2 separate regions of the Homo sapiens genome follow, and region 1 is linked to region 2. The links are contacts of gene promoters, found by promoter capture Hi-C in human tissues and cell types (Jung and others, 2019). All regions are on one chromosome and are shown on one strand. The core of a region is centred on a gene start or on the middle of the fragment in contact, and the rest is flanking DNA. Distances in the headings are between cores, read along the strand shown.

The links. Contacts are between HindIII fragments. The study calls those that stand out against the background at their distance.
Region 1: a fragment that was not itself captured here is called in contact with the fragment with the promoter of EML4 in region 2 in 1 of the 25 tissues and cell types used here (liver).

Annotation. Positions count from the first base shown.
Region 1 is chr2:41,825,758-41,829,426 of GRCh38, reverse strand. No RefSeq gene overlaps it. Among named protein-coding and RNA genes, the nearest start is that of LINC01913, 50 kb to the left of the region's middle. The HindIII fragment of the contact is 7,189 bases long and covers 1-3,669 here.
Region 2 is chr2:42,167,036-42,170,660 of GRCh38, reverse strand. It overlaps EML4 (EMAP like 4), which reads right to left and starts at 1,308. Exons shown (of 23, transcript NM_019063.5): 1 at 1,025-1,308. The coding sequence starts at 1,049. It overlaps EML4-AS1 (EML4 antisense RNA 1), which reads left to right and starts at 430. Exons shown (of 4, transcript NR_110584.1): 1 at 430-691. RefSeq lists silencers at 1,297-1,356, 1,457-1,506 and enhancers at 922-1,574, 1,587-1,726. The HindIII fragment of the contact is 12,178 bases long and covers 1-3,625 here.

The DNA of each region.
Region 1 (3,669 bases), core at 611-3,110, 340 kb after region 2:
AAGATGCAGCTGTCCTCAGAGAGCTGCCATGTCAGGGCCCTGAGGTTAGAACTGCAGTGAGAATGAGGACCAGGACAAGAGACTGCAGCACCTTTACATGCGTGGAGGCTCTGTGGCTGGCTGCCCCATGGCTGGGACATGCAGAAAGTGCCTCAGCTGAGTCATCAAGACTGAGCCTAAGTGAAATAGTGAGATGGAAGATATTAACAACAACCACAACCACAAAATAGGCTATTTATGCAGCATTGTTACTGGATATTTTCATGCTCAGGACTGAGCTGAAGGCTTTATAAACATCTCTTTTAATCCTCTCACCTCCATGAGTTCACTGTTAGGATCCTTATGTTACAACTAAGGCTCAGGGAGACTATGCAAGTTGTTTGATGATAAAGTGCATGAGTGGCAGGCAGAGCCAGAATTTGAGCCCGGGTCAAATGGGACTCAAACTAGTGCATGGAGAACGACTAGCCCACGTTACCTCTCTAGATTGACACTCTGTTTCGTGCCCTCTCCTCCCCATTTTGAATCTACCTCCATCTCCCCTCTTCCTCTGCATGGGGTCCCTTTATTTCTCCCTCCCAAAGTCACTGGGGTCCAGTGCTCCCCCCAGCTCTTCTCCCCAGTTATTACCCAAGGAATGGCCCTACTTCAATCATGTATGCTTTAAGGCTGTAGAGGAAAAAGTTGAGTTATTTTTCATATTGTTTAAAAATGTTTCTGCTGTAATCACTCTTTATATTTACTTGTGTCAAAATCAGTACCAGGAAAAAGATGGGTGATTTTTCATTAACCCCAAGAGGATCTGAATTGTTTTTATACTGGTTAATTTAATTATAACAAACTCAGTGAAGTCACTCTGTTAAACAGTAAAACAGTTAACAGTGGGTTAAACATTACAAAATCCAATTTCCTATAACAAATAAACAATGATTGGGGAATGCAATTTCCTACAACGGATAAGTAGGTGAGTTTTATAGTCTCAAGGTTAAAGATTGTATAATATTTAACCATTATAGTTAGAGAAAAATCCTACAAGGGACCTCTGTACAAACTACTGAATTTTATGATGACAAGATACAGAAAAAATGTAAATCTGACAAAAAAGCATTCTACCCCTCCAAGCTATCTAATGTTTGTATTCTTAGTGGGTTTAAGTTAACTGACTGGTAAATATTTTCCAGTTCTTATCTGTATAACAAGGTGTAATTATTAGCTTAGTGCAGAGTATTCTCAAAGCCTCATGTCAATAGGTCAGTTTCTTAATCTCTCAAGACTGCTCTATGAGAAACTTGTGACTTCTGGTTTTTAACTGTAATTTTAATTAAAAGTTAATTTAAAAATTTAGGGTTTGTAATTTTAATTTCCATAGTATAAATTTAAAAGCCATTTGCATTTGACTTGCCTCTAGTTGACAAATAATATCTTTGACCCACAGATAAAGGAATTTTAAGAATTGCTCAAGGAAAAGTATTTTTTTCTGCAGTGGAACAAGGAGTAACTTTACGGTTTCTGAAATCATGACATTCAGAGATCCTTTCTGAAGCTGGCCTAGCAGGTTAATGCAATATGGGCATTGTTTTCTCGAAGCTGAGGTTACAGCAAACAGAGCACTCTCCTATATGTGAACAAAGAACGCTGGTTCATATAAGGGAGGGTGCCACACAGGGGTCACCGTAAGGTTGCATAAGCCAGAAAATGAGCCAGAGGGGACTGCTGAGTCCCAGGAGAGCTGCCATACAGGCTTGGATTTCTTAATTTTTTATCTATTCTTGTATAGTCTGTTAAAAACTATATCTATTGAGTCTTCAAAGCACTGTGCCAGCATTATAGCTATTAAGGTAAGCAAGATAGACTAGTATTCTCAAGTGACTTACAGCTTCATGGGGAAAACAAATAGGTAAATAAGTAATTGTGAAAGGGTGTGATAAGTTTCACAACAGGGAAAGATTAGGGTGTTGGGAGAACACAGCAGGGGGGACCCAGCCTCATCAAGTGGAGGTCGGAAAGTGGCCTTTTCCGAGGTCTGAAGGATGAGTAGGGGAAGCCAGTAGAGGGAGGAGTTTAGGAATGAGGTTCCAGATGGGAGTTCTTCTTGTGTGAAGTCCTAGGAGCAAAAGATAATGCAGTGCATTGGGAATTGAAAGAAATTTACTGTGGGAGGAGAGGAGGTAGTTGCAGGGTGTGAGAAGCAAGCGGGAGAGTAGGCTGGAAAGATAGGTAGGGCTCCACTAGACAGGCCATGGTGAGGTGAGAGTTTAGCTAAAAGGCACTGAGAAGCCACTGAAAGGCTTAAAGATAGAACATGATGTGGTGAGTCATATTTTAGGACTTTAGTTGTTTTTAGGAAAATAACTCATTGTGATTGAAAGAAGAGATTGGAAGGAGACACAATTAGGGGCAGTGAGACCAGTTAGGTAGCTATTGCAGATTTTCAGTTGACAGATTTTGAGAGTCTGGACTAAGGCAGTGTCATTGGAAATGCAGATAGGTAGGAGGGCATTGAGAAGGTAAATAGGCTTGGTGAAAAATTCAATGTGGATATGAGGAAGAAGAAGAATCTAGTGTGGCTGGTGTATGAAAATGCCACAGATTGAGCTATTCAGGAATAGATTTGAGATGGGGAGGATGATGTTCAGTTTTGGACTCGTTGAATTTTGGTCCATTTTGGGCTTGTTGAATTTAGCAGGATGTGAGTTACATGGGTCTGGAGCTTGAGAGACTTGTATGAGCTGGTAATATAGATGGTAAATGAAACCTGGGAGAAGGTATAAAGGGAAAAGAGAAGGGAGACTAGGACAGAATACTGAAACATCAGCATTTGAGTGACAGGGAGAAGAGAAATGTCCTATGGCCAGAGAGGAGGAGGAAAACCAGGGAAGCCTGGGCCAAGGAAGAGACCGTTTCAAAAAGGGAGAGGTTAATGTATCAAATGCTGAGCACAGGCTAAGTAAGATAAGGACTGAAGAGTGTCTGTTGGAGCTAGTACAAGGTAGACCTTGGAATCTATGGTAAGAGAAGTTTAAGAGCAGTTGTGGGCCAGAAACCAAATTACACTGGAGTGGAAAGAAGAGGAAAAGAAGGCAGAGCATTTAATCAGTCTCCTTCAAAAGGAGAAGGGCTATGTTCTGAAAAGGACATGAGGCTAAGGAAACTTTCCCATCTCCTGATGGGAAAGAGGCAGTAGAGTGAGTAAGTTTGAAGATGCAAGAAACAGATGGCATAATCAATAAAATGAGGCGATGGGGAGTGGGATCCGAAAACTGAGGGGAGGAATTAGGCTTAAGTAGGAGGAGCTTTAATTTGTTGAGTGCAAAGGGGGCAAATATGAGCACAAATGTAGGCATCTTGCAGATGTGGAGGTCGGAATTTGCCACAGCAACCCACATTGGCTAAGAGACTTCAACCACTCCCACTATTCTAGCCCTCTGCCATTTCCTTTCAGCTGGGACAGCTTAAGACCAATTAAAATAATATTTTTAAAAGAGCTTTGAAAATGGTAGATGATTAGAAATGTAGTGAAGTGAAATGATTATGTGAAGTGGTGTGAAATGGTGGAAAAACTGGCTATGAAATTTACTTGTTGTGTGATTTTGGGAGGGCGCCTTCACCTCACTCAGATTCCTCAGTTTTCATTTATAAAGTAGCCTCTTCCTACCAGCTCTATAGAGT
Region 2 (3,625 bases), core at 59-2,558:
TCTAACAGTTGAACTTAATCTTTTACTAGATTTCAATGGCCTCGAAGAATAGTAATTCCAGATTCAGCTTCTAGGGCAGCGAATACTAGCCTGGAGTTTTGATTTTCCTAGCCAGAAGATTACCTTCATCTGGTGAAAGGAACACTGAAAAGGCACTTCAGCCTATTTAATAACCTCTTCCCTTTCTCCATTCCACAAAGACAACATCTTCCAAAAATGGAGAATCCTTTCCTTCCCTGATAGAGGCCCCCTTTCCTATTGATTCATTGGGCAGAATCACTTCTCCCCAGCATGTATGCAGAACCAGAAAACACTTCTGCTTTCACTCTTAAAGAGGGTCCCCCAACACAGATGCACCTCTTCCTTTCCTGCATTAAGCAAATGATGCTCCGATGCTTCTAGGTCTCTCCACCACTGCAAAATGCTCAGAGAAGTGGAGGGATTGAAAAGGAAGTTGCCTACTACTCTGAAGGATACTGGAAAGTCGCCTTCAAATCTAAAGTGAAGACTTGGGGGCGGGGGATGCCCCCTTCCTGAAGAGGGAATGAGGGTCCCTCCCCTAAAAAGGAGCCTCTGTTCGGGTGAAGGCGATCCCCACCCTGAAAGAGAGGCGTGTATGTGGAAAGGTGGTGGAAGGTTGTACCCTGAAGAGGAGCCTGGATTTGAAGAAATGTCCCAACTCTGAAGGGGGGTAAGTGGAGGGAGCCGTGAGTGTACGGGGAGGGGTGTGCCAGCTATCGGGGGGCCTGAGAAGGAAGGGGTTCCCACTTTGGGGGAACGAGGGCCCCGCACTGAAAGGGGCTCCGGGAGGAAAGGAGGGTCTGACACAGAGGAGAGTTGGACATGGGGGAGGGGCCCTCAGTCCACCGGAGTCCGCGGAGGGGCGGCAGCCTCGAAGGGAACATGTGCAGTGGAGCCGCTGCCACCCCGAGGGGCAGGCGGGAGGGCAGGGCCTGGGCTGTGTGCGGAAGGAAAAAAGTTCCTACCCTTCGCAGAAGACGCAGGACTCCCCAGCCGTACTCACCGAGACTGCCGGCGAAACCGTCCATCTTGCGGGGAAAGCGCCGGGCTCCGGGCTTAGAGGGGCGGGCACTTCATTCAGCGGACCGACAGAGTGGCCGACGCTGAGCCTGACCCGCTCGTTCTCTAGGTCGCCCGGCTCGGCTACCGGCTCCCGCCTCCGTCGTCCGTCCGTTCGCCCTGGGGTAGTAAGCCGCGGCCGCCCGAACCACTTCCCCGTCACGTTGAGAGCCGCGCCGCTCAGCCGCCTGCCCGGCCTCCCTCCCAGGCAGCAGCCGCGAGCGCCGCGCCGCGCCGCGCCCCGCCCCGCCCCCGCGCCCGCGCGCAGCAGTAGCCCCGCCCCGCGCACGCCGTCACACTTCCGACTCCGCCTCCCACGTGACGCCACGGAGGCGGGGTCTTGCCAGCCCCGCCCTCTCACCTTGCCTCGGCCTCGGCGTTTGTCCGCCTCGCGCCAGGCTGGTGGTTGCGCCTGCGCGGTAGGCCTGCTGAAGGCTGGGGACCACGGTTTGGAAGCTGGTTCCAAACAGGTGGGGATAAGGCATAGACTCTGGCCTGCGATACTCTGATGCATGAAGGATCCTCTCCCTATGTGGCCCCTGGGAAGCCCGCAGAGCCAAGACTGGACCCCCGTGACGGGAGATGACCACCACGTGGGTCCTACAAGGACACTAAAGAAGCAACCAAGAGGGAGAGGTTCTCCCTCTCCCCCAATAGGGTGGGGGACAAATAGGGGCGAAGCTTCTTGACTAGCTCGATACCACCACTGCCACAGCCGCAGGGCCCGGGACAGATCAGAAGCAAGGAATTTTAGTGCTGGACATGACCCAAAAGTTCATCTTGTCTAACCCTTCTTATGAAGAAAAACACAGAGCCTTAGAGAGGACAACCTGCCCAAGGTCATCGAACCTAGTAGAAGCAAAAACTCAGCCTTCCTTACTCTCCCTAGCGTTCTGTCGTCTAGGGGTGCAAAACGACCATATATGGCAGGCTATAGGATGGCCTGCTAGGGAACCATAATAAGGGTTATTTCAAATGAAGTAACACTGAGTTCTAGGCCCAACTCCGTATGACTCAAGAGTGTCAAATCACCTAATTTATTTAGGCGTCACTTTATTCATTTGCAAATTGGTTGTCTGGACATGTAACCAAAACATGTAAATATACATAGCGTTCATATTCTTCCTCCCTTCCCCAACACGATTTCCCATACTTCTAAAGACTTTCTCATGGTTTGTCAAGTCCCTCCTGGGGCTCAGTTGTGCAGATTAGAGTAAGAGAGAGAAGAGCTGTAAGGTACTGAAGAACTGAATTGATCTATACATAATAAATTGATAAATACATAATAAAAAGCTGAGTTAGGGGAAAACAGAGTCCTACTACACAGAGTTGCAGGAGAGAGGGACAAACAAGAAGGGAGACAAGAAATATGTAATGATGAGAGAGACTTAGAGGAATTAAATGATTGAAAGGATTGTTAAACCTTCTTGGGGTATACGTCTCCCTTTGTTGCCTCTTTAAAAATCTTCCCTAAAAATGTAAATTACTTTGCATTTCTTATTTGGATATAAGACCTGTTTCTGAATACCATACTATATGGAGACTGGCCATAACGCAGCCAAGATAAATTCAGGTTACAGACTAAACGGTGTCTAAAATTTCCTTCTCTTCAAACTTAAATGATTTACCCAATGTTCCTTCTGCTATGGGCATTTTCATATGCATAAGTTTCTATTAAGCCTAAGTAAATGTTTGAGAAGTTCTCAATTCTGACAGCTGTTCCTTTGTGTCTTCAGGCCACACTCTCTGCCTTAGGTCGATTAAAAGAATAAGAACTTGGCATATTGGTATACATATGTTTTATGGTCCAGACCTGGAAGTGTGTACCTCCCTTTTGTCCACATTCCACTGGCCAGAACTTGGTCACATGACTGCAAGGGAGGCTAGGAATGTAGTCTGTGTATCCAGAAGGAAAAGAGACATATTTTGGTAACAGCTCTCTGGTTTCTGCCACACTCCCCTTCGTGGCATTCATCAGAGTTAAAATTTTTCATTTGCTTGAATGATTTATTCAATAAGCATCTCATTCATTATACTGTATACTACAAGGAAAGCTGTTAAAATGTAGGAGAGTTAGTACATCCCAGCAGTTAAGAGTGCAGACTCTGGAATCATGCTGCCCAGATTCACATCCCAACTCATCATGTACTAGCTATGAAACACTGGACAAATTACCTAACCTCTCTGTGCCTCCATTTTATTGACTGCAAAATGGAGATGATAACACTTCTACTTCTTAGAGTTTTTGAGAGGATGCTATGAGGTAATATATGTAAAGCACTTAAAACAGGGCACAATATGTTATAAGTGCTCAGTAGGTATTAGCTGCTCTTATTTTGTACCTGTTTTTGCTCTCTATTATATACTTAGTGCATATTACAGAACAGCTTTTTGATAAATATTTATTGAATAATGAACAAACATAGAAGAATTCTGAAAACTAGTCAATCTGAATACATTGTTTCAACAACCAGTGCCTGAGTGTTTTAAAGCAGCCAGAATTTTTGTTTTATATTTATCAAAGTACATCTTGCAATCTAAGCCT